Regions from separate parts of the Homo sapiens genome. Here regions 1, 2, 4, 5, 6 and 7 are each linked to region 3. Evidence: promoter capture Hi-C in 16 types of primary human blood cells and fetal thymus (Javierre and others, 2016). All regions are on one chromosome and are shown on one strand. Each heading gives the region's core, a stretch centred on a gene start or on the middle of the fragment in contact. The rest is flanking DNA. Distances are from core to core; before and after follow the strand shown.

Region 1 (3,493 bases), core at 235-2,734, 220 kb after region 3:
GCTGTTTTGGCTACCCTGACTCTAGAAAACATTATACACTTGATATTAGATCTTCCTCTTTTGATCTGAGAGACCAAAATGGATGCACCATTATCAAGTAAGACAGACTCAAAGCTTAAGGAAAGTAACTTACCTATGGGTCCAAGGTGCCGGCTGGCATAGCAAATTGCTAAATTCCTATGGCTAAGGTCTCTAATAATAGGAGCTATGAGCTCTGATTTACAACCCAGACCCCAAGTCTGATTAGACAGAGGACCAGCCTTACAAATATTCTTTTCTCAGAAGCTATTGCAGACCTTAAGCCAGTTTCAGACAGCTTATAGAGGCTGTGCACAAATTGCCTTGGTGTCCTATAGTTCATCTTTTGATGTGGAGCCAATTCCACCTCATTTCAATGCCAAAATCCTACCCCAAAGTGAACGTGGCATGTATGTTACATACATGTTTACCCATTGCCCATACATAGAGTTCCCTCATAAATATGTATAGCTTTTCCCCAAATCTGCTGAATGTGTATGACACAAGCTCTGTGAAGCATAAAACCCAACGTGTCCTTCCCCTCCTTGAAGAAAGAGCAGGCCAGGTGAGGTGGCTCACACCTGTAATCCCAGCCCACTGGGAGGCCGAGGTGGGTGGATCACTTGAGCACAGGAGTTCAAGACCAGACTGGGCAACATGGTGAAACCCTGTCTCTACAAAAAATACAAAAATTAGTTGAGTGTGGTGGTGTGTGCATGTGGTCCCAGCTACTTGGGAGGCTGTGATGGGAGGATGGCTTGAGACCAGGAATTCAAGGCTGCAGTGAGCTATGATCACACCACTGCACTCCAGCCTGGGTGACAGAATGAAATACTGTCTCAAAAAAAAAAAAAAAAAAAAAGAAGAAGAAGAAGAAAGAGCACCATTGGTCCACGTTGGAGACTTTCTCTTCCCAGCTGCAAACTGATATCACCAATATAGCTCTCCTTTCTACCATCTAGCCATCTTGGTGATCTTCTGGATGACACACTCAAGCCTCATATCCATTTTTTTTTATCCAACATGTTCATCCCCTCTACCTCCATGCTAAAGAGAAAACATCTATAGGTGTGATTTGAGGGAAGAGTCCCTCGTTCATCCCTAGATGAGTATTAGTCCCCGAGCTCCAACATCAACTACTAGTCCAGGGAGCAGAAATTCTCTTCTGTCTCTCCTGAATGAAGACTTTTATCAGGATATAATTATCCATTTACACCTAACCTTTCTAAAACACAGATATGACTATGTCTCTCTTCTGCTTAAAAATGGGAACTTAAATGCCCCTCTCCCCTCAATGCCTGACACAAAGCCTATGGACAGCCTTCAGGAAATTTGTGAATTCCTGATATTTTATCATAGGTGTATTACTTTGGAGAACAAGGCTGTGGCTGTCAATGGATCCCCAAAGCAATGTTACCACAAAATGTGAAGAAACACCAGCCTCCAGGAAAAAGGCCTGACTCAAGTAAGAGATTCATCAAAATTTGGCTCCAGCCTCTCACCCTCCACTCTCTCCTCCATATCTTTGTTGTTTCTTTGTTTGTTTGTTTTAGGGGGAATTACAGGCATGTGCCATTGCACCCATCTAATTTTTGTATTTTTAGTAGAGATGGGGTTTCACCATGTTGGCCAGGCTAGTCTCGAACTCCTGGCCTCAAGTGATCCGCCCTCCCCGGCCTCCCTCCCCTCCATATCTAATGTTGTAGCTACAACTTGTCTTTTCCTATGCTATCTGTGCATCATACTTCCTTGCTTTTACTTATGCCTTTCTCTTTGCCTAGAATACCCTTTCCTTTTTATCTTTTTTGAGACAGAGTCTCATTCTCTCACCCAGGCTGGAGTGCAGTGGAGCAATCTCGGCTCACTACAACCTCCGCCTCTCAGCCTTAAGTGATTCTCCTGCCTCAGCCTCCCAAGTAGAATATCCTTTCCCTTTCTTTTCCAGGAAAAGTACTATGCATGCCTTGGAACTCAGATCAAATGTTGTATCCTGGTAGAATCAACGATCTAAGCTCCAACACACTTTGTATATATGTCTGGCATAGTTCTAATTAGTTCTTCACTCATCTGATTAACCCCGAACTAAAATGATCTCAGAGTAAGAATGGGTCTTATTTAATTCATATCTCCAAGGCCTAGCACAGATCATACTAGGCACTACTGGTTATTGGGCAGGAGGATAGGTGTCAGCATGGACCATTGCCCAACAGAACAGGAACACATCTCCCTCTGAGCATGCCTCCTCAGACCCCCTACTCACCCAGGACCATTTCTGCTCAGCCTGATGCTTTGGCTCTCTGAACTCTGTAGTGAGCTTTGTATTTGCAGATTTTTCTGACCAGTAACTCAAAACTAATTTTGGAGACCAACATTGCCAATTTAAAACGTTTCCAAGAAAAGATGTTTTTTAAAACCTATCACTGGCTGGGTACAGTGGCTCATGCCTGTAATCTCAACACTTTGGGAGGCCGAGGCAGGTGGATTACCTGAGGTCAGGAGTTCAAGACTAACCTGGCCAACAAGGTGAAACCCCGTCCCTACTAAAAATACAAAAATGAGCTGGGTGTGGCGGCACATGCCTGTAATCCCAGCTACTCAGGAGGCTGAGGCAGGAGAATCGCTTGAACCTGGGAGGCAGAGGTTGCAGTGAGCCAAGAGCAAGACTCCGTCTAAAAAACAAACAAACAAAAACAAAAACAAACAAAAAAACACCTATCACCTACTTTCTCCATAGTTTTATAAAAGTCACTTTAATACCTCAAAAATAAAAAGGTCATTGTCTCAGCCTAGAGGACAGTCCTTTGGATTAAATGCATTTAGCATTTTAAAAGCTTACCACATTGACCTCATTTTTTCATTCAGTGGTGAAAAGTTTGTCCTAGTTTATCAGTTCTAAAAAGTTTGGAAACCACTGATTTAGACCTTTGCTTCTGCAAGGCAGCTCCTGCATTCTTCCTGACTCAGGAATTAGTTTCAGGTCTCATGCCAGGAATAAAGTCCTGCACCATCTTTCCCTACAGTTTCTTTTTGTGGATATGGAGAGAAGTACCTAGAAACAAGAGACCGACTACAGCATATTGAACAGTCTATGCTGGTCACTTGACTTTGGATGAGGGGCAAATCTCAGTTGACAAACTCAGCTCAAAAATAAACTACTCTAGGCAAGAAGTATCTTATACAGCTTTGCAGCCCCCAATGACTTAAGAACTAAGAGATGCTAGTTTATGGGAAGAATGAAGAATGAATGAATGAATGAATGAGTGGATGGATGGATGGATGGATGGATGGATGGATGGATGGATGAATGGATAGATAAGTAGATGGATGAAATCTGAGTCCTCATTACCCAGAGAATCCCTGTGGAACAGGCTCAGTTAAGTCAGAAGTGGTATGTTGCAAATTAAATGAGTCTTTTCCAGCCTCAGCTTTTCACTACTACTTCCTGGGGCACAGCGCCTTCTAGTGGAAATCCAGA
Region 2 (3,809 bases), core at 1,155-3,654, 230 kb before region 3:
GTAAGAGCTAGCATGGGGTCTGGTAGTGATGATCTACAGGTGAAACATATGACCACTGGAAACAAGAGGAGCTTTTGGTTTGTGCAGGCCACCACCAAACATGATGCAAATAATATTGATTATGCTCTATTTTATTAGAGCATAATATTCATTATGTCTAAGGACTAAAAACATGCCAGCTTAAGATTATGGGGAAAAAATCATTAAGAGAGAATAAACCCTCCATAGCAAGAAAGCAAGAAGAAAACCTCAAGCCTTTTGAATGAGTTCAAGTTTTCAGGTCAGATGACCTAAACCCCCAGGAACAGCAAAAGCTTATAGACAAGACTTTTGAGCAGTTACGCACAACAGTGTAGACCTTGCCAGAAGGCTGAATATCTGCAAGTATTCTCATATTACACAGGGGTCAGAAGACGTAAACTCTGACACGAACATCTTAGTAAATAGGCTATTAATCCTTTGCAAAACTCTAGACTCAACTACTAAATAGACATTTCATAGTAATTTTTTAAAAGATTAGCTGGGCATGGTAGTGTGTGCCTGTAGTCCCAGCTACTCAGGAGGCTAAGGTAGATCGGCTCAGAACTCTTGAGCCCAAGAGTTCAAGGAGCAGTGAGCTGTGATCTCACCACTGCACTCCAGCCTGGGCAACAGAGCAAGGCTGAAGGGAGAGGAGGGGAGGGGAGGGGAGAGGAGGGAAGGGGAGGGGAGGGAGGAAGGAGACAAAGAGAGGAAGGGAGGAAGGAAGGAAGGGAGGGAGAGAGGAAGGAAGGAAGAAAGGAAGGAAGGAAGGAAGGGAGGGAGGGAGGGAGGGGGAAGGAGAAGGAAGAAAGAGAGGGGAGGAGAGGGGAGAAAGGAGAGGAGAGGGGAGGGGATGGGAGAAAGGAGAGGAGAGGGGAGGGGATGGGAGAAAGGAAAGGAGAGGGGAGGGGAGAGGAGGAGAAAGGAGGGGAGGGGAGGGGAGGGGAGAGGAGAGGAGGGGAGGGGAGGGGAGAGGAGAGGAGGGGAGGGGAGAGGAGAGGAGGGGAGGGGAGAGAAGGGGAGGGGAGGGAAGAGAAGGGGAGGGGAGGAGAGAGGAGAGGAGGGAAGGGGAGGGGAGAGGAAAAGGAGCACCAACATAGGTTCACAGATGATAAGCCTGCTGCTTTCAATCAGCAATCAAGAACTGCTGGCATATAGTAGATACTCAATAAATATATCCTTTTCCTTTTTATGTATTCTTTTAAAAATAACAGCAACATTTATTGAGCATTTACTCTGTGCAAGGTGCTGTTCTAAGTGCTTCATATGGTTTCATTCATTTAACACTCACAACAACTTCATAAGGTATCTAGGTACTATTATTATTATTATTTTACAAATGAAGAAACAGACACAATTTGCTCACAAATATTTACTGAGCACCTTCTATGTGCCAGATATTGTGCTAGGTCCTGGGCATAAAACAATGGACAAGAAAGATACACTTCCTGCCCTTCAGGAACTCCATCTAGTGAGTGAGATAGGCATTACCAGATAATGACACAAATAATTACTAAATCACAGAATGCTGTGATAGCACATCAAGGGATAACCTGACCTAGTCTGGGAAGTCAAGGAAGGCTTGCCTGAAGGAGTCATATCGAAGCTAAAGATGAGTAGCAGTTAGCTAGGGATAGAGGTGGAAGCAGCATGTGCAAATGTCCTGGGGTAAGAAAAAGGCTGAGGCATTTGAGGAAATAGGAGGCCAGTATGGCAGGAGCAGGAACAAGGAGAGAATAGAACCAGGTTAAGCCTGGAGAAGGAGCAAGGACCAGTCTACACAGGGCCTTGAGATGTGTTTCAGACAAACACACCCCCGGATCAGGGAAGAATCAGAGACACACTGAGTCTGGGTTTCAACAGTGCCTTCAGCTCAGTCTTTCACCAATAAGGTGGGAAAGTGTAAACTAAGAATGGAATGGGCTGGGCACGGTGGCTCACACCTGTAATCCCAACACTTTGGGAGGCCGAGGTGGGCAGATCATCTGACGTCAGGAGTTTGAGACCAGCCTGGCCAACATGGCAAAACCCTGTCTCTACTAAAAACACAAAAATTAGCTGGGCGTGGTGGCACATGCCTGTAATCCCAGCTACTCGGGAGGCTGAGGCAGGAGAATCACTTGAACCTGGGAGGCAGAGGTTGCAGTGAGCCAAGATCACACCACTGCACTCCAGCCTGGACAAAAGAGTGAGACTCTGTCTCCAAAAAAAAAAAAAAAAGACAGAATGGAATGATTTGGTCACTTGAATAATATTTGCTAAAGAAATGTTGACTAATTTTGTGCAATCTAAAAAAGCTCTCTAGTGACATGTTACAGAGTTAAAACTTTGAACTTATATGAAACCACCTGTGAATAACAGATAGAAAAATTGCTAATGGATTGACAGAGTCATAAATCCAAAAGACCCAGATGTGTTGGGAGGATGAATTAAAACCAGCAGGATGATTTCTCACATGAGATGTCATGTGTATTTCTGATATCTGGCTATGAAGTCGTTTTGCTTCATAAAATCTTGGAAGAAAGTCCCACTACATTGCACCAACTTCTCTGCCCTAAAACAAGACACTACAGCTTTCCTAAGTGTCTAACCTTAGGAGTAATAGGTAGGACTCAGCAGTGAGAACACCTAGTAGTGCCTGTCATTCCCAAGAGATGAGTAAAGTATATGGTCCTTGAGATGAGCATGAACCCAACCACCGAAGGCTCTAAAGCTCTTCCTGTAGCTTGAAGGGGTCCAAACAATGAGGCAGGCCCTGCTGTACCAAAGAGATGCTGTGTGTGATATGAGAGAGGTCTCCTGGCCCTGTGTTCAGGAGACTGGCAAGGTAAGAGAGCCACCAAGCTCAACCTTGTGATTGAGAACAATCTTGAGTGTAATTCAGTCTGGTCTCCCGGAGACATTGAGAAAAATAAGAAAGTTCTGAACTAGTAACAGGACAAAAGCCATATATAAAAATTTTAATTAAAATAAATATATATGCATATAGGTATTTGCTTATATATATTCATTTCTGCCTTTAGGTAAAATCAATAACAACTATACTTTTTCAGGATGGGGGAAGCCTGACTTGATCGTGGGTCATGTGAAAAGGGCCCAGCAATTTGCACCGACCTCAAGCCCAGCATGAATCAGCACCGTGGTAACTGTCACGAAAAAGGCAAATGCTAACTTATGCAGCATGAGATCATGGGAGAGAATGGCTCCACGCTATTCTGGGCTGTTCTGTAAAGTTGCCTTCTTTCCAGGCACCTCTTTCATGGGGCACTAACAAGCCAGATGGTGTTTAAAGCAGAATAAAGAGGGGGCTGGGGGGACTGGAAACCATGAAATGTGAGGAAGAATTGAGGGACATGAGGATGGGGGGGACACATATACCTAGAGAAAATTTACATAAAACATAAGAGCCATCTTCAAATAGCTGAAGGGTTTCTCCACAGAAAAGAGAGAAGACATTCTTCTCTCATACACAACAGGACAAAACAAGGAATAAAAGTATTAAGAAAGGTATTAAGTGTATTAAAAACAATAACATCCTGGGTGTCCAAGAAAGAATACAAAAAAAGTTACAGGAAGGTGGATTCTGGCTCAGTGAAGACAGAACTTTCATATAACCCACGTGTCTAAAAAGATGAAGAGTTAACTTATCAGAGAACTCCTTGGCCATGGACTATGTAAATACCAACCTATTTTAAATTCAATCCCCCACCTCCATGTGCCCCAATACCAATTAGCTCCAAATCAGCTCTATTTTTTTTCATGAATAACCATCACATTCTAACATACTA
Region 3 (3,947 bases), core at 949-3,448:
AAACATGCACAAAATAGTAATGTGAGCTGGTTTCTATCAGTCCATCTTTTTACAAAGCCCTTGGGCTCCTAAGTGTTATGAGATCAGAGGGAAAGATCAAACACATGTGCCCTACTTTCACTTAGCAGTATCCAGATTTTTTTTTAAGACAGTCTTGCTGTGTTGCCCAGGCTGGAGTGCAGTGGCACAACTGCAACTCACTGCAGCCTCCGCCTCCCATGTTCAAGCAATTTTCGTGCCTCAGCCTCTCCAGTAGCTGGGTTTACAGGTGCGTTCTACTACACCCAGCTAATTTTTGTATTTTTAGTAAAGATGGAATTTCACCATGTTGGCCAAGCTGGTCTCGAACTCCTGACTTCAAGTGATCCACCCGCCTCGGCCTCCCAAAGTGTTGGCATTACAGGTGTGAGACACCGTGCCTGGCCGGTATCCAGATTTTTAAGTTTGCCAGGTATTATGTGAGCCATAGTTCCAAAAGTGTATATGCTTCTCATGAGTGGATGGACAATGCTCCTGGCATAGAGTAGGCTCTTAAAATTTCCTCATTTTAATTACTCGATGAAGGCACAATTGATCTAAGTTACACAATAAGGGTAAGGTACTAAATCTATTTTGCTCACAAAGGTGCTAAGGTTTGGGCAAAATATAAATCATTTGTTTTTAATTTAACAATACCTTTTGAGGTACAGTAGGGTCCACAGTTTCCCAAGGTTCTGGATTTTTTTTTCGATCAAGGCTAAAATTAAAGAAAGCCAATTAAACATTAAAAGATGTGAATTTAAACCAACACTGATACTGGGTTTATAAACATGTTAGGGACAAAACCAGTCTCATACTAAGGCATGTGTCTGCTAATGATCAGGAACCATCAGTAGCAACTAAAATTGATTGAAAATTCTCTAAGGGAGTTTCATGGTGTGGCTCAAACATTAAACATCAGTTCCCCTAAAGGGTAGGAGGTCTGTATTCTCTTGATTGGGCTGCATTGGGGAAGGATCCCACAAACCAAATAACCATGGGAGTGAAACTGCCAAGCCAAGGACATGCAATAATGTTCTTATCTCAGTCTGTGGGAGGGGCAGGTTGAACTCTGCAGGTGGTGAACTCCAGGGCTCTAGGCTCCTCTGCCAGCGGTTAGAGGACTGCCCTCTCCAGCCCTGCACCAGCCTCCAACAGTTTCAAGTTTATCTTTTCCTCATATTCCAGGATACATGTTTTTGTTTTTTACTTTCTTCTACCCAAAGTTGAGATTAGGTTCATCGTAGACAACTGAATCTATCAATTCTACCACATTAGTAAAAATCTAATAAGCTAAAATTTAAAATTTTAATTAAAATGATTGTTTCATGATATATATCTCCCAAAACCACTGAAGAACTTTAAATTTCAAAACTTAAAAAAAAAAAAACAAGCTTTACTTCACTGCCAGAGAGTGGAGAAGGGCCAATGGGTAAAAGAATAAACACAAGAAATAAACTAATTTGATTAATATCATGGGTTTTTTTAAATTTTTTCTTTTTTTTTTCTAATTTTCATTTTCTGACCCATTGGTAGACAATATCATAAGAGTTTTCTGATAAAAGATGCTTTTTAACCCTGACTCCCAGTTCACAATTTGGCATTCTCATCCATGGGAAAAAAATAGGAAACTTATACATTTCATAAACTAAAAGTCATCCAAACACTGCCAAAAACGTTTTTATAAATTGAGACCTACTTACATCACATCGGTTTTCCAAAGAGAATACACAGCGAAAGATGAGGCTCCACCCGCCGCCACAGTCATGAACACCACCAAGGGAATGAGCTAACAAATAACAGGTGGAGGGGACACATTTGGACACTTCAATATGAAACATTTGAAACACAGCAAAACAACTGTATTTATTTTATACTTTGTTCAAAATCTGTGCCATCTTTTCATCTTTAAAAATGAAAACTTTAGTCAAGATTTTCAATTGTTTTTAAAACTTACTTCCTTCCTTTTCATCAGGAGTTGGAAAAAGCTCATGATGACTTCAGCGAAGAATTGCCAAATCTAGAAATTAAAAATCCAAAGTATTGATCGCCTGGTGGGCGCCAAACCGTCCACCGCGCTCCGCAGGCCAACTGCGGGCCGGCGCGTCCGCGTCTCTGCAGATGGGAGACTCACCTGGACGCCGGGCGGTGCGCACGGACGATGGTAACGCCCGGAACCGAACGGGCCGGCGGCCTCCCCACCTTATATATAGCGACCACAACCGCCCCGGGTGGGCCGGGCCAGCGCGCTCTGGTCACGCGCGTGGGGCGGGGAGCGCGAGGGACCTGACTCGCTTTCCCCGTTGGGCACGCGACTCCCGGGCGCCCCCTGCAGGACATTCTGCGGCTGACGTGAAGCGCCCGAACGCGGGCGCTGGCGCCCCCTGCCGCTCGCCGCGGTCTTCCTTACCTGCCGACCCCGGTCGCTCTTGGCCCCCCTAGGTGCTTGTGAGGAGTTTGGAGGTTTGGGGAGTAGGAGGTGGAACCCCCTAAGAGGGGAGCGCAGATAGCCGAGGCCTGAGGGAAAGCCAACCCTTCTAAAAGGGTATCCGGGCCTGGCGCGGTGGCTTAGGACTGTAATCCCAACACTTTGGGAGGCTGAGGCAGGAGGATCACTCGAGTCCAGCCTGGCCAACGTGACGAAACCACGTCTCTACTAAAAAAAATTAGCGGGCGTGGTGCTGCATGCCTGCAGTCCCAGCTACTGAGGAGGGCGAGGCAGGAGAATCGCTTGAGTCCAGGCCTTTGAGGTCGCAGTGAGCCAAGATTACACCACTGTATTCCAGCCTGGGCAACAGAGCGAGACCCTGTTTTAAATAAAATAGAATAAAACAAAATATTTAAATAAGCAAATAAACAATAAAAGGGGGTCCGGAAAAATGAGCTGCAGACCGGAGGGTCCCAGGAGAGGCTCCCAGGTGCAGGCGGGTAAATTAGAATTAATCCAATCACATTAAAAGCTCCAAAATGTGGTCTGTGCACCTATGGAGATCATTAAAATTAAATTGTAAAGTTTATTTCAGAATAACTCCCAGGGCGTCCTGACTTTTTCTGCTAAAAAAAAAACCCAAAAAAACAAAAACAAACAAATAAACACAATAAAACAAAAACCCGAGGTCGAGGGAGAACAAACAAAAGAATAAGCTGGGGAGGCTGTCAGGAGAAGGTCTTTCTGCAAACGACCCTGCCGGCTGGTTTAGTCTTTGGGTTCCCTCCTAACTCTCCTCTAAGCCAGCAACCTCACTTTGCAGTTTGCAGGCGGCTGCAATGGTAACAATTTCACAGAGCCAGGGGCTGTGTGTGTGCCAGACACTGAGCCAGATTCCCCTCGGCAAGGTGGGTGCAAAGTCTTATTAAGACTCAGAGAGGCTCTGGTCACGTCACTGGTAAGTGGCGGCGATGCCATCAGAACGCAGGTCTGTCTGGTGCCCAACACCATGGTTCTGTCTGCACCCCTCTGTTAAATACTGCAATAAGTAAAGGACCAGTTATTTTAAAACAAACAGTTTGAAGTTCAAGCTGTAAGTTAAAGTTAAAAGGCAACATCTTAACGTTCCCTGAAATTGGCTAGACCCTGCTGTGTTTCAACCCCATTTTCATTCTAAACCTGGGTTTTGTAGTCAAATGGACCTGAGTTCAGAGCCTGCCCCTGCTATACTTATTATTAATAGCTGACTTTAAGTAAACTACTTAACCTTCATGAGTTTCAGTTTATATATCTGCAAAATGGGGGCAAACCTGGCAGGGGAGAGAGTTGGAAAAAATGTTAGAATATATGTAAAGCATTCTGTCCTGCTTGTAGTAGGCACTCAACAAATAGTTACTATATGCAAAGATTTGGTTTTTTGTTTGTTTTGTTTTTTGAGCCAGAGTCTCGCTCTGTCACCCTGGCTGGAGTGCAGTGGTGTGATCTCGGCTCACTGCAACCT
Region 4 (3,601 bases), core at 201-2,700, 150 kb after region 3:
TCTCTCTCTCTCCCCAGTCTTACATTTTCAAGATCTACTCCCACCTACATTACCCTGATTCTGTTGACAAAGAGTCAAACTCTGTAAAATATTTTAAGAGGTTTATTCTGAGCCAAATATGAGTGATCATGGCCTGTGACACAGCCCTCAGGAGGTCCTAAGAACACGTACCCAAGGTGGTTGGGGTACAGCTTGGTTTTATATATTTTTAGGGGGGCATGATACATCAATCAAATACATTTAAGAAATATATTGGGCTGGGCATGGTGGCTCATGCCTGTAATCCCAACACTATGGGAGGCTGAGGCGGGCAGAACACCTGAGGTCAGGAGTTTGAGACCAGCCTGACCAACATGGCAAAACCCCAGCTCTACTAAATATACAAAAATTAGCCAGGCTTGGTGGCGTGCACCTGTAATCCCAGCTACTTGGGAGGCTGAGGCAGGAGAATCGCTTGAACCCAGGAGGCTGAGGCTGCAGTGAGCTGTGATCACGCCACTGCACTCCAGCCTGGGTGACAGAGCAAAACTCCATCTCAAAAAAAAAAAAAAAAGAAAGAAAGAAAATAAAATAAAATACATTGGTTTGGTTCAGAATGGTGGGACAACTCAAACCGGGGGCTTCAGGGTATAGGTAGATTTAAACATTTTCTGGTTGACAATTGGTTGAGTTTATCTGAAGACCTGGGATTAATGGAAAGGAATGTTCAGGTTAAGAAAGAGGATTATGGAGAGACCAAGTTTTATTGTGCAGATAGCAGACTTCAGAGAGAGAGCAGGTTATAAAATGTTTCTTATCAGACCTAAAAGGGTGTCTGGCTCTTAGTTGATTATCTCCTGGATCTGGAAAGAAAGGAAAGAAAACAAAGGGGGAAGGGGATTCTCTACAGGATATGTATTTTTCCCACAAGAGACTTTGTAGGGCAATTTCAAGGTATAGCAAGGAAATATATTTTGGGGTTAAATATTTCTTCCTTGTCTCAATGTTATGCCAGAGTGATTGAAAAGTAAGTCACGATATATAGGGTCAAACAAAACCCATCTGATGAGAATTTATGGTTTGTAGGACATGACTCCCTAGACCCCTTAGGTAGGAATTTGGGCAGATAAAAAAATTAGAGTTTAGTCCTCAGTTCTTACATATTCTCCAGGTCCTACAGTTCCTTTGGAATGGAGGCTAACTCCTTCTGGAGCAGGACCTGTACTTCCCTGCTCAGGCTGTGCTGAGCTCTGGCACAGATTACCAGACTGGAGGCAAAAAAGGCAGAGAATGGAGGCTTATCTTGGGAAGAACGAAAGTTATTCTGCAATGACCTATTTTGGATGGGCAAGGGGAGGCTGTTTTCCTTAGTCAAGAGAAAAGGGTTTTGCTGACAGCATTATAAATAAATAAATAAGAAAGAAAAGGGACTGCTTCTGCTGGCCAGGAAGATTTAGGGACAATTAGGAGCTCCAGATTTTGAGGCTCATCCACTCACATATTTTATTTATTTATTTATTTATTTTTGAGATAGCGTCTTGCTCTGTCACCCAGGCTGGAATGCAGTGGCATGATCATGGCTCACTGCAGCCCCAACCTCCCGGCTTCAAGCGATCCTCCTGCCTCAGCCTCCCAAGCAGCTGGGACCACACCTGGCTATTTTTTTTTTTAATTTTTTTGTACAGACGGGGTCCACTATGTTGCCCAGGCTGGCCCTGAACTTGTAGGCTCAAGCAATCCTCCTGCCTCTGCCTCCCAAAGTGCTGAGATTACAGGCGTGAGCCACGGTGCCCGGCCAGGGAATCTTGTTAACATGCATATTCTGATTCAGTGGGTCTGGGGCGAGGCCTGAGACTCTGCATGTCTAGCAGGTGATGCTGATGCCTTGGGTTCACTGGTCACTCTGCCACTCACATATTTCTTATTCAGGTCTTAACGCCTCACATTTTTCTTTTCTGGAAAATACCTCCACATGGGAAAGCTGTTGAAGCTATGCATTCAATACCTTTAGCAGCTTTGCCATTCTGGATCCTGAACCTAATTTCTTTTCTTTTCTTTTTATTTATTGTTTTTTTTTTTGAGTCAGAGTTTCCCTCCTGTAGCCCAGGCTGGGGTGCAATGGCACAATCTTGGCTCACTGCAATCTCTGTCTCCCGGTTCAGGTGATTCTCCTGCCTCAGCCTCCCCAACAGCTGGGATTACAGGTGTGCACCATCATGTTCAGCTAGTTTTGTATTTTTAGTAGAGACAGGGTTTTGCCATGTTGGCCAGGTTGCTCTTAAACTCCTGACCTCAGGTGATCCACCCACCTCGACCTCCCAAAGTGCTGGGATTACAGGTGTGAGCCACTGCACCCAGCCCTGAACCTAATTTTTTTAAATTTTTTAAAATTATACTTTAAGTTCTAGGGTACATGTGCACAATGTGCAGGTTTGTTACATATGCTTACATGTGCCATGTTGGTGTGCTGAACCCATTAACTCATCATTTACATTAGGTATATCTCCTAATGCTATCCCTCCCCCCTCCCCCAACCCCACTACAGGCCCCGGTGTGTGATGTTCCCCACCCTGTGTCCAAGTGTTCTCATTGTTTTCAACAGTGTCTAACCTACTGCTGCAAGAGATGAGTCTCCTTTATGGCTGCCACAGAACTCCTCTGGCTTTCATATTGTTACTTAGTTGGCAATATGCTGCTTTAAACTATCATTTTCTTTTTCCAAGACTTCCAATGCTCTCAAGAGCAGCCAGTCTATTCTCCACTCTGTGCCGTTATTATTGCTCCCATACTGATCAAATACAGCAGCCACATAATATCCTAATTCCTTATCTTCTATCTGCACCTCATCCCAGTCAACTGGAGGTGAAAGCCTTAGTAATTGTCATGCATGCCCCTGCATGGCAGGGTTATACTATCCTGTTTACCACTGGGGAAACAGTTCTGATTGCCTTTAGATAGGTGGGCTAGTCTCTAAAATCACACTTTTAAAGGTCTGCTTTTAAAGACTACTCCTGGTACTAGCATTTTTGAGCCTACAGTCTCAAGAAAAGCTTAGAGCAAAAATATGCACATTTTTGTGATGGATGCTTTATTGATTGGTGAAATTGCAGGGAAGAAAGTATGACGAGAAAAAAGAAGTGAGGTAGGGGAGATGTAAAAACAAAGAGATGTGCTACCAAGATGGCCATAGCTTCACTGCGAACAGAGATGTTTGCCTGGCCTTCCAGGGCATCTCCACGGAGTACATATGAAGCCACTGCCTCTCACGGGAGGAAGGGTGAACAATGCTGGCTTCTTTTTGTCTCCTGTCTCTCAGTGGTCAAGGTTTACCCTACCCTAGACATGAACTCTCTCACACTTCTGGGTGGTAGTACCCACTCCTCCAGCCAGCTTCTCAGGAAGAAAGAGCCTCTGCAGCCCATTTTGGCCAATGTGCTTCAGTCTTTCCTCCTGAGTCAGTACTCAGTGTATGGGGGTGTATGGGGGCATGTTAGCACCAGGGGCTGTGGCTGTGGCTTTATGACTGTGAGATACCTCATAGAGTTTTTGTGAGAATTTGGTCAAGTAATATCCAACGCCTGGCAGTTAGTAGGCACTCAGTAAATGTTAGCTATTATTATGA
Region 5 (3,466 bases), core at 967-3,466, 220 kb before region 3:
CTAATCATTAAACAGTGTCCAGCTCTTGTTGCCTACTCTGTTCTTCCCGCCAGACCTGGCCCAAGCTTACTGTGAGCTGTTGGTCTGGATCTCTGTAGCTTCCTGTCTCAGGGCACGAATGAGCACTGTGTACACGGCACAGGTCAGGCTTACACCTGGTGCCCAGGTGGAGGGACTGTTGGAAAACTCCTCCTCCTCCTCAACTAAATCCTCCCACTTGGGCTTTCTGGGCGTATTTAATTAATTAAGTCAGCCCTAATGCTATTATCAGTTATTTACACCTCTTAACCAAATATTTTCTTATTTCAAATCCAGAAGACAGGATTTGGTAGGAAAATAATCTATTCTGGCTGGGTGTGGTGGCTCACGCCTGTAATCCCAGCACTTTGCGAGGCCAAGGTGGGCGGATCACGAGGTCAGGAGATGGAGACCATCCTGGCCAATATGGTGAAACCCCGTCTCTCCTAAAAATACAAAAATTAGCTGGGTATGGTGGCACATGCCTGTTATCCCAGCTACTGGGAAGGCTGAAGCATGAGAATCGCTTGAACCCAGAAGGCGGAGGTTGCAGTGAGCCAAGATCGTGCCACTGCACTCCAGCCTGGTGACGGTGGCGCAAGATTCCGTCTCAAAAAAAAAACAAAAAAACAAAAAAACAAAAAACTATCATTGAAATAATAACTAACATTTATTGTTTACCAGTTGTACTTGTGCTGTCTCAAAGACTCCTCATAACCTTATAAATAAAATCCCCATTTTACAGATGATAAAATTGAGGGTTTGAGTAGAGATAGAGAACTTGCCTAAGGTCACATGACTAAGCAACAGAACTTAATTCAAACTATCTAATAATTCAGGAAAAATGCCTGTTGGCTGAAATTATTTTATTTTATTTTGTTTTTGAGACAGTCTTGCTCTGTCACTTGTCGCCCAGGCTGGAGTGCAGCAGCATGATCTCCACTCACTGCAGCCTCCGCCTCCTGGGCTTAAGCGATTCTTGTGCTTCAAGTCTCCCGAGTAGCTGGGATTACAGGCACCCACAACCACGCCCAGCTAATTTTTCTACTTTTAGTAGAGGCGGGATTTTGCCATGTTGGCCAGGTTGGTCTCAAACTCCTGGCCTCAAGAGATCCACCCGCCTTGGCCTCCCAAAGTGCTGCGATTTACCGGCCTGAGCCACCGGGCCTGGCCCAAGCTACTTTAAATTTGAATGAAAATAAAATAATCCCAGCACTTTGGGAGGCCAAGGCGGGCGCACTGCTTGAGCTCAGGAGTTCGAGACCAGCCTGGGCAACAGGGCGAAACCCCATCTCTACTAAAAGTACAAAATTTAGCCAAGCGTGGTGGTGTGCTTCTATAATCCCAGCTACTAGGGAGGCTGAGGCAGGAGAATCACTTGAACCCAGGAAGAGGAGGTTGCAGTGAGTGGAGACTGCCTCACTGCACTCCTGCCTGGGCCACAGACAAAGACCCTGTCTCAAAAAAAAAAAAAAAAGTTAAAGTAGCTTGGTTGAATCCCATGGAGTGAGGTGGGAGGTGAGAGTGAATATATGTTTTGTTTTGTTTTGTTTTTTTCTAACAGAGTTTCACTCTGTTGCCCAGACTGGAGTGCGGTGGCATGATCTCGGCTCACTGCAACCTCCTCCTCCCGGATTCAAGCGATTCTCCTGTCTCAGCCTCCTGAGTAGCTGGGATTACAGGCGCCCACCACAACACCCAGCTAATTTATATATTTTTAATAGAGACTGAGTTTCACCATGTTGGCCAAGCTGGTGTCGAACTCCTGACCTCAGTTGATCCACCAGCCTCGGCCTCCCTGTTACTAAATTTTAGCTTACTAAATAAACTGAAAAGAAAGAAATTAAGTTTTTTTGGCAGAGAAGGGCAAGGTACAATAATAGTACTGATTTAATTTTTTAGGAGTCTTTATCTTTCAGAAATATACACCGAGATTCTTATAGTTGAAATGACTCGGAATTTGCTTGAAAATATTTTAGGAGGTGTAAGTGGGTAGGGGTGTAGATGAAACAAAATGGGCCATGAGTTGGCAATAATTTGAAATCAGTGGATGGATATATATGGGCATTCCTTGTGGCAGTCTATTTTTGTACATGTTTGATGAAAGTTTACACAATAAAAACTTAAAATGAGTGAATGAATGAAAAATTTAAAAAAACTATGTCAGAGTGAACACTGGTTTTGCTCTTTAGTCACTGAAATGTTAAGGTTTGGGCATATTTCAATAATAGCAAGATATTAGCAATACAAGTAATAGCAACACAACTTATAATCATACATCCTCCCATGTGCATAGAGCTTTACAATTCACAGGGCCCAAACCTGAGCCCACACCGGAAGTATTGATATCACTTTACAAATGGGAAAACTGAGTTCCAAGAGGTGAAGTCACTCAAGGGTTTCACACAATGCATCAGCAGCAGGGCCAGAGCTAGCATGAATTCTTTTTCTGACGAGCAACTTTTTCTGAATATCCTTTGCAGCAGCAATGCAGGCATTAGCAGGAGCTAGCAATTCAGAGAAGGAGCAATTCCCAGTCTGCACCTTCCAGCTCCAGGGATGGCCTCTCTGCTGCGATAGGGCAGAACAGAAGAGTCCTGCATCTCTGGGTGGCCCCACATGCTGTCTCCTAGAGGGGCCGGCCTCTAAGCAGGGGCAGATCTGGGTTTTATGGGCATTGAACCCTATACAATTTGGGGCTTCAAATCTGGGGTTTCATAACCCAAAATTACCAATACAAAATTAGATACAATATCCAATATGTATTTTGAATGAGAAAGTAAATCACAACAAATACCTGTATCCTTGGTGAGTCAGGACCCTTTGTTCTGCGATCTCTTTTAGAAAATGTATCAGAAATACAAACATAGCAATGCTTGCTAGTTACAAGCTGGCTGCCTCCTGGAACATGGGAAAACTCCCTGCACCCACAGCCAATAAAGGGTCAAAACAAGATTTAACTGGAGGAGGTGAAAGGAATGAGGGAGGCAACCAAAGCAAACATCATCATTTCCCTATTACATGAAGGACATTCCTGGAAACTGGCTCACAAGATTATAGAAGCTAAGTCCCAATTCTGTAGTCAGCAGGCTGAAGACCCGGGAGAGCCTATGGTACAGTTTCAGTCTCAAGGCCAGCTCAAGACACAGGACAAGCCATGTTTCAGTTGACTCTCAACACAGAAGAACATCCGATATCCCAGCTCCAAGACACTCAGGCAGGCAGGGCTGATTGTCTCTCATTCACGGGAGTGTTCGCCTTTTTGTTCTACTGAGGCTTTCAGCTGATTGCGTAAGGCCAACCCACATTGGGGAAGACAATCTGTTTTGCTCAATCTACCCATTCAAATGTTACTCTCATCCAGAAACCCCCTCACAGGCACACCCAGAATACCGTTTGACCAAATTTCTAGGCACCCCATAGTCCAGTCAAACTGGAACATAAAATT
Region 6 (3,982 bases), core at 450-2,949, 240 kb after region 3:
GTAATCCCAGCATTTTGGAAGGCCGAGGTGGGGAATCACTTGAGGTCAGGAGTTCGAGACCAGCCTAGCCAACACGGTGAAACTCCATCTCTACTAAAAATACAAAAAATTAACCAGGTGTGGTGGCGCACGCTTGTAATCCCAGCTACTAGGGAGGCTGAGCTGGGAGCATTGCTTGAACCCGGGAGGTGGAGGTTGCTGTAAGCTGAAATCGTGCCACTGTACTCCAGCGACGGAGTGAGACTCCGTCTCAAAAAAAAAAAAAAAAAAAAAAAGGCAGACATGAACCTAGGAGTGCGGAGACACTGAGGCAGTGGGGGAAAGGGGGTGGGGTAAAGTGAGGTGAGACAGCTGCTTTCCCAGCAGAGCCAAGAGCAAATGTGTTGGTGTTGGCTTCAGGCCTACATTTATGGTGAGGAACTGGCTTTATTTCTTTCCTTTTCTTTTTTCTTTTTCTTTTTTTTTTTTTTTTGAGACGGAGTCTCACTCTGTCGCCCTGGCTGGAGTGCAGTCGCGCAATCTCAGCTCAATGCAACCTCTGCCTCCTGGGTTCAAGCGATTCTCCTGCCTCAGCCTCCCGAGTAGCTGGGACTACAGGTGCCCGCCACCACACCCGACTAATTTTTTTGTATTTTTGGTAGAGACGGGGTTTCACCGTGTTAGCCAGGATGGTCTCGATCTCCTGACCTCGTGATCCTCCCGTTTCGGCCTCCCAAAGTGCTGGGATTACAGGCGTGAGCCACCGCGCCCAGCCGGAACTGGCTTTATTTCTAAGACAAAAATGCCTAGCACTTGAGCATCTGAGCCTCAAGAGGATAAGGAGTTTGTGATAGACAACACTGGGACTGTTTCTAGACTTGATTTATTGACTTGTCTGTTTCCATTCTGTTACTAATCTGATTGACAATGAAGCCCGGGATGTGGCTGGAAGGGATTTCTGCGTGCGTGCGCATGCTATCGTCAGGGCCATGTGGGCCCGTTTGGAGCAGGTGCTCCCGTGGGTGGGGGATGTTTGAGCGAGGGCTGTTTGCGTGTGAGAAGGGCGTGTGTGAAAACGACACGGGAGAAGTGGGCGTCTCTAGGGAGTTGTTTGTATGTGATGTGAGATGTGTTTGCCTGGATCGGGAAGTAACGTAGGTTCGGGTATGTGCAGTGCGTACGGTTGGATGGGAGGAGGTTGTGGGGCTCCCAAGGTAGCACGGGAGGAGGAGGCTTACAGACACATCTTACAGAACCTAGCCCCTTTTCTTGCCCGCCTAGATTTTCCTCCTAGATTATAGTTTCCCAGTTGCGAGATCCTGGGAGAGGGAAGAGGAGAGGCGTAAGGCTCCCTAGAGTCAGGAGTCTGGGGGCTCCCCTCTTTGCGTCTCGCACGAGCTGGGAGCTGGGGAAAAGAACAGATGGGGATGGATGCGCTCCCCACAGGGGACCGCGTGGCGACACGTAAAGGATTCAACCTCAGTCCAGTAGTCGCATCCTCTGCCCCAGGGCTGCCCACTTCACTTCTTGCCTGTGCATACCGGCTGGAAGCCCGCGTACACTCTTCCGAGCTACGGGAGGAGGAAGACCCTGTTAGGGAGCGGAGCCCCGCCTCTCCCTTGTTACTGAAGCGCCCCGCCCCCTCCCCGCCCGGCGGAGCCCCGCCCCCCTCCCCACCCCCGCCCCCGCCCCCCACCCGCCGCTGCGCTCCCCTCGCTCAGTCTGGCTGGCCCCATGTTACTGAGCGGAGCTCCTCCGGCTGGCTCCCGCCCGGGGCCGCGAACGCAGGGGAGCGCTGGGGGCGGCCCGGGGGGGTCCCGCCGGGGCGCCGGGGGTGCGGGAGCCGGCCCAGGAGGGGGCGGCAGCGGCGGAGTAGCCAAGTGGCTCCGGGAGCACCTGGGCTTCCGCGGGGGGGGCGGCGGCGGAGGGGGCAGCAAGCCGGCGCCCCCCGAGCCCGACTACCGCCCCCCTGCGCCCTCTCCGGCCGCGCCCCCCGCGCCGCCCCCGGACATCCTGGCCGCCTACAGGCTGCAGCGGGAGCGCGACTTCGAAGACCCCTACTCCGGGGGGTCGTCCGGCTCCGCCGCCCTCGCCACCCCTGTCGCCCCCGGACCCACGCCGCCCCCGCGCCACGGCTCTCCCCCACACCGCCTTATTCGGGTCGAGACCCCGGGGCCCCCGGCGCCGCCTGCTGATGAGCGGATCTCCGGACCCCCCGCCAGCAGCGATAGGGTGAGTGCCGCGCCGGGCCGGGATGGCCAGGAGGGAAGGCGGTCAGGGGTCTGGAGGCTGCGAGAGGGACAAAGGTGGCCTGGCCCGGGCCCCTCGGTGTCTCAGCTTCTGGCAGACGCGAGCCCCTGACCCCGGGGTTCCGAGCCTTCACCCACCTTTGTTCAGATTCTCAACCGACTAATCTGAGACGGAAGCCCCAAACTCTGCCCCTCTGCCCTATCCTTTGTAATGGCCCCAGAACTGGTGACCCTCCCCCTCCCGGGCTGGCTCTCCACTTCGTAGCCCCCTCTAGCCTGATCCATGAGCCTTTTGCTAACGGGAATTGAGGCGCACCTCCCAACCCCCACTGGTTGATGGCCTTTCTGCCCCTCTGGAAGCAGCGGCTCAGTGCCCTTTGATCTCTGACCCTTCCCCCTGGGCATAGCCAGCACAAAGCTCTTCCCTCCTGTTGCCTCTTTGCTTCCTCCTCCTCTTCCTCCTCCTGTTTCTCCAGCCTAAGCATCCTTGCAGGTGCTGAAGCCCCAGAAAGGAGGTGAAGACGGGTTTCTCCTTGCGGACACAGCACGAGCTGGCCTTTGCCCTATAGGCTGTTGTTCTCAGGAGGCGAAGACAGGCAGCTTACAGCTCTTGCCAAGGGGGCTTCGTGGGGTCCAGGCCCACTCCTCCCTCCTTCCCTCGTCCTCTCAGGTATGAGGATAGTCAGTGCTCAGGACCTGTTGCCCACATGGGGCTAAGCAGCTGAGCCCATTCCTCCTCTCCTCCTGGCCTCCCTCTCCCCCTGGTCCATTCTGAGGGAGGCTGGAGCTTTTCCTGGGTCTGCAGGCACCAGGATAGGGAGGAGAACAGGAAATCCACCATGCCTCAGGGCCCTGCCCTGATTCGGGTTGGCCTTATCCCTCCCTGGCAGAGTGAGAGCTGAAAGCCATCCCAGGCCCCTAAATTCTGTGATGATGACTCTGTGGGCTGCCTTGGCTCTGCTGTCCTTCTTCACTCACCCCGAGAGCTCAGTTCTGGGGCCTGCCCCCTTCTCCTCAGCAGAGAAGAACATTTTTATTTGATTGGAGTGCAAAGTTGCTTTCCGAATCCGTTGGCTCCAGGATTGAGGCTTTTTAGCTGAGAGAGCGCCGTTCCGCCAGATTTCCTGGATGAGAGAGATCTGTCAGGGTCAGAGCAGAAGCCTCAGGAATGCAAATTATTTTTCCCCTAGTTTTTGCCATGGGGCATGGCTGCCCATCCTGGGCCAGGATACTTATTCTGCAGAGGAAGGTTCAAGGGCACTTCTCCAAGGCTGTGCTCGTCTGCTTCTTGTCCCCTGCTATTGTGTGATGTGATGGAGGTAGTGACAGTGAGACAGAGGAGAGGGATAGGCCCTGTTCTTCCCACTGACCAGTCAGTCTCCTCCTCTCTAACCACTGCCTGTTTGGCACAGGCAACATGGGCCTGAGCTGTCTTTGGCCCTTCTCCTCTCTACAGTGGCTTGGATGCCCTAACAGGCTGCCCACCAAGCCATGGGCTCCTCCAGGACACAGACCATGTCTTCTTGTGTCTCCCAAGTGCCTGACACAATGCTTGACATAAAAAAGGGTACATAAATATGTCCTGAATGGTGACTGTCCATTATCAGGGTGGCGTGAGGGTCGGAGACTCCCCTAGCCACAGCTTCCCTTGCACATTTTCCCAGACACCCCCAAGGAAGGGGTGCACCCACACAGTTCTATGCAGAGACTCACAGCCTCTTCTTGCCAAGGGCCTCCATGCCTCAGCTTGGGTC
Region 7 (3,573 bases), core at 556-3,055, 250 kb before region 3:
ATATATATATGTACACACACACACACACACATAATATATACATACATAATATACATATATACATAAATACGATGAAGCAAATGTCACAAAATATTAATAATTGGTTAATACCTGAAGGGTATATGAGTATTATAATTTATTTCAAATTTGTATAGGTTTGAGATTTTTTTTTAAATAAAAAGTTGGAAGGAAATTAATATTAATAATGAAAAAGACACTCAGTGAGTTTCCTAGATGGTCTACCTTGAGGTTGAAATAGTCAGCAAAAGTAACACAATCTGTTCCACAGGTGTCTAATTCACACAAAACATGACCATACTGAAGGTCTTGTGTTTTATAGCATCCAGAGAAGACAGTTCCTGTCAGTAGAGGACAGAATCTAAAAGGCAATTCTCCCCATCACTGCTGGTGCAGAACATCGAGGTGAAGAATTTAGTTTTCCAGGCTGAGGCCTTAATCGTGTACCACTCAGGGCATGCTCCACTGTATTTGTCTTAACAGGACAATTTTCTGGTCTGCAAGCTTTCATTGACTTCCATGTGTTTTCTGGGAAAACAAATGCTCCTCGAGCTTTATGGTGTTTCAGGCAGAAGAAAAATAGCCAACCTGCCTGGTGTCAGAGGCAAAGATACCAGGGATGCCAGTATGGCAGTATGAGAAGTAACAGAATTCAAGAGAGCTAGAAAAGTGATGCACTCTAAGGCCCCCTCTTCTGACAACAACCCCTCTGACCTAGAAAAGGTAGATAAGATCATGCTACTCTGGGGCAAAGCACTCAAAAGGTATTTTTTGCTGTATATGACACTGGGTTCATTGACAACTTGCTTCTGTCTTAGGAAGGCCTTTTTTTTTTTTTTTTGAGATGAAGCCTTGCTCTGTCACCCAGGCTGGAAAGGAGTGGTGCGATCTTGGCTCACTGCAACCTCCACCTCCCGTGTTCAAGCAATTCTTCTGCCTCAGCCTCCTGAGTAGCTGGGATTGCAGGCGCCCACCACACGCCTGACTAATTTTTGTATTTTTAGTAGAGACGGGGTTTCACCATGTTGGCCAGGCTGGTCTCAAACTCCTGGCCTCAAATGACCTGCCTGCCTGAGTCTCCCAAAGTGCTGGGATTACAGGCAGGAACCACCGTCTCTGGCCGATGCCAAGCTTGTGTTTTTGTTACAATCATGCCTTGAGGTGACATATTTTTGAGAAAGGGAGAAATGGAGCTGGTTGACTTACCTACTGCAGCAGCGGTCTTTGACGTAGGAAGGTTGGTGCAGTCCCCAATCCCAAACACATTTGGGTACCTCCTGTGTTGCAGAGTTTCTTTATCCACATCCACCCAACCAGCAGCATCAGCCACAGGACTGGTCTTGAGGACATCTGGTGGGCTCATTGGAGGTGTGACATGAAGCATTTCATACTACACACAAAGAGAGAATCCACATTTTCATTTATTCAATATTTCTACAGCTCCACAAGCTCTCCCCCTACCTTCCTTACTCTATACACTGTGCTATGGCTGCATGGAGCATTATACAATCAGCACTTGTACCAGTCCACGCCCTCTCCAAGATCTTATGTGTTCTCCTGGGGAATGGTGATAAGCTAAATAACCATTCTCTCAGTTGACGTGATCTCCCCATACAGAGACCAAGAGAGCCCTGTGGACACACGTACGGGTACATGAGATATTGGAGTAAAGCTCACTAATATTCTGAAAAAATCCATTGATGTTTTTATTAGTACTAAAATAAGGGGGTGGTATATTTCAGTTGCAGTCTCCCTGACCCTCAGCTGTCAACTTGCAAAGTTTAGCACCTCAGCGTTATTCTGTAAGGTGATGCTCAGCATCCCTTAAACTTGTAAAGGATATGTTAGGAGCTGGTAAGAAAGCATCATTCCCAAATATGTGTCAACTTCAAAACACATAAAGGAAACTGTCAGAACACCAATTTAAGATGAAAAGGGGTGGTAAAAATATTAGCTAGCACTTTGGAAAAGGAGCAAGGGGTCTGATTCAGTACTGGATTTACTTTTCAGTGCAGAAGGCAGGGGTGAATTTTTTTCCAAAACACCGTATCAAGGTTACCTTTGGTAGTGGTGCACTGACCCATCCTAATCACTTTTGAGGGCTCATTTAATTTTTTTGTTTATGTAATATTCTTTCACGTTTTGTAGTTGGTTCTTATTATTCTTTTTATTTATTTTTAACAAACTCCTTCCAGCAAATTCATCAATTTGCTAGTGGGTCCAGTTAAGGACACATTGATTGAAATGTTCACGACATGTCATTAGGGTAAAAACTTAAGCAGTTGAAGACAATTCCAACCTTTTGAGATAGTCAATAGCCCTTCATTTCCACAAGAAGTCCAATGTTCCCATGCCCTCCGAGAGGCTCAGCAGTCACTGATGGCAATGGGAATTAGGAAGATGACTTGTACTTATTACAACTCTCAGACAAATATAAGCTTAATTAACCTCAGGGAAGGAGCACTGCAAATGGCTGCTGCTCATCTGCAGGATAACCTTGGGTGGAGGGTGGCTCTTGGGCACATGGGTCCCTGAGGTCAGGTCTGTTCATGAACGTTGAAACTGAATGCATGTTTGCAGGATAATGGATGAAATGGTCAACAGCTATCATCTACTAAATTATTAATCTCCTGTCTGCATTTCTGCAGTCAACTAGAACTACTTTTGAGACAGTGTTTCACTCTGTTGCCAGACTGGAGGACAGTGGCTTGATCATAGCTCACTACAGCCTCGAACCCCTGGGCTCAAGCAATCCTCCTGCCTCAGCCAGGAGGCACGCACCACCACACCCAGCTAGTTTGTTGTTGTTGTTTTTTCTTTTATTAGAGACTCGGTCTTGCTCTGTTGCCCAGGCTGGTCTCGAACTCCTGGGCTCAAGCAATCCACCTGTCTCAGCCTCCCAAAGTGCTGGGATTACAGGTGCAAGCTACCATACCTGACCTAGAACTACGTTTTTGAACTGAGGTCTAAACCTTACTAGAGTCATCTCGGTGGAGTTAATGTGTTTGAATTTCACAAGTACACACAAATTCCACAACTCTTTTCTAAAAGAAAAGCTAAATACTTTCATATAATCATCATAAAGGTATGGAGTTTTACCTGAGCTAACATCCTACAAAAGGGTCTACTTTATGGATTTATTAGAAATTAATGGCCAGGTGCAGTGGCTCATGCCTGTAATCCCAACACTTTGGGGGGCCAAGGTGGGCAGATCGCTTGAGCTCAGGAGTTCGAGACCAGCCTGGGTAACGTAGTCAAACCCCTCTCTACCAAAAACACAAAAAATTATCTAGGCATAGTAGCACATGCCTGTTGTCCCAGCTCCTCAGGAGATTGAGGTAGGAGGATGGCTTGCTTGAGGCTGGGAGGTGGGGGTTGCAGTGAGCCAAGATGGCACCACTGCACTCCAGCCTGGGTGACAGAGCAAGATCCTGCCTCCAAAAGAAAAAAAGAAATAAAAAGAAATTAACATTGGGCCAGGTGTGGTGGCTCACACCTGTAATCCCAACACTTTGGGAGGCCAAGGTGGGCAGATCACTTGAGCCCAGGAGTTTG

What was found. Contacts are between HindIII fragments. The CHiCAGO score rates a contact against its expected background, and 5 or more counts as called.
Region 1: a fragment that was not itself captured here is called in contact with the fragment with the promoter of COXFA4L3 in region 3 in 15 of 17 cell types (M2 macrophages, total CD8 T cells, fetal thymus and 12 more); the score reaches 11.3 in M2 macrophages.
Region 2: a fragment that was not itself captured here is called in contact with the fragment with the promoter of COXFA4L3 in region 3 in 3 of 17 cell types (M2 macrophages, M0 macrophages and monocytes); the score reaches 10.8 in M2 macrophages.
Region 4: a fragment that was not itself captured here is called in contact with the fragment with the promoter of COXFA4L3 in region 3 in 2 of 17 cell types (monocytes and total B cells); the score reaches 7.3 in monocytes.
Region 5: a fragment that was not itself captured here is called in contact with the fragment with the promoter of COXFA4L3 in region 3 in 15 of 17 cell types (M2 macrophages, M0 macrophages, monocytes and 12 more); the score reaches 29.2 in M2 macrophages.
Region 6: the fragment with the promoter of SHF here is called in contact with the fragment with the promoter of COXFA4L3 in region 3 in 11 of 17 cell types (M2 macrophages, erythroblasts, M1 macrophages and 8 more); the score reaches 9.3 in M2 macrophages.
Region 7: a fragment that was not itself captured here is called in contact with the fragment with the promoter of COXFA4L3 in region 3 in 4 of 17 cell types (M0 macrophages, M2 macrophages, monocytes and 1 more); the score reaches 13.6 in M0 macrophages.

The regions. Positions count from the first base shown.
Region 1 is chr15:45,205,312-45,208,804 of GRCh38, reverse strand. No RefSeq gene overlaps it. Among named protein-coding and RNA genes, the nearest start is that of TRH-GTG1-9, 5.9 kb to the right of the region's middle. The HindIII fragment of the contact is 2,735 bases long and covers 117-2,851 here.
Region 2 is chr15:45,664,017-45,667,825 of GRCh38, reverse strand. The region is part of intron 3 of SQOR (sulfide quinone oxidoreductase); the gene reads right to left. Among named protein-coding and RNA genes, the nearest start is that of SQOR, 31 kb to the right of the region's middle. The HindIII fragment of the contact is 4,176 bases long and covers 317-3,809 here.
Region 3 is chr15:45,428,861-45,432,807 of GRCh38, reverse strand. It overlaps COXFA4L3 (cytochrome c oxidase associated subunit FA4L3), which reads right to left and starts at 2,198. Exons shown (of 5, transcript NM_197955.3): 1 at 2,153-2,198; 2 at 1,976-2,038; 3 at 1,722-1,807; 4 at 676-736. The coding sequence starts at 2,011. RefSeq lists a silencer at 2,176-2,255. The HindIII fragment of the contact is 4,531 bases long and covers 1,415-3,947 here.
Region 4 is chr15:45,281,942-45,285,542 of GRCh38, reverse strand. No RefSeq gene overlaps it. Among named protein-coding and RNA genes, the nearest start is that of SLC28A2-AS1, 4.5 kb to the right of the region's middle. The HindIII fragment of the contact is 3,162 bases long and covers 1-3,031 here.
Region 5 is chr15:45,645,358-45,648,823 of GRCh38, reverse strand. All of the region lies in intron 1 of SQOR (sulfide quinone oxidoreductase), which reads right to left. Among named protein-coding and RNA genes, the nearest start is that of SQOR, 12 kb to the right of the region's middle. The HindIII fragment of the contact is 4,297 bases long and covers 68-3,466 here.
Region 6 is chr15:45,185,683-45,189,664 of GRCh38, reverse strand. It overlaps SHF (Src homology 2 domain containing F), which reads left to right and starts at 1,699. Exons shown (of 7, transcript NM_001394037.1): 1 at 1,699-2,211. The coding sequence starts at 1,714. It overlaps LOC124903481 (a long non-coding RNA gene), which reads right to left. Exons shown (of 2, transcript XR_007064608.1): 1 at 3,207-3,982; 2 at 847-1,550. RefSeq lists a silencer at 1,755-1,804 and an enhancer at 2,719-3,271. The HindIII fragment of the contact is 22,026 bases long and covers 1-3,982 here.
Region 7 is chr15:45,680,313-45,683,885 of GRCh38, reverse strand. SQOR (sulfide quinone oxidoreductase) reads right to left here. Exons shown (of 10, transcript NM_021199.4): 7 at 1,225-1,408. Among named protein-coding and RNA genes, the nearest start is that of SQOR, 47 kb to the right of the region's middle. The HindIII fragment of the contact is 1,307 bases long and covers 1,152-2,458 here.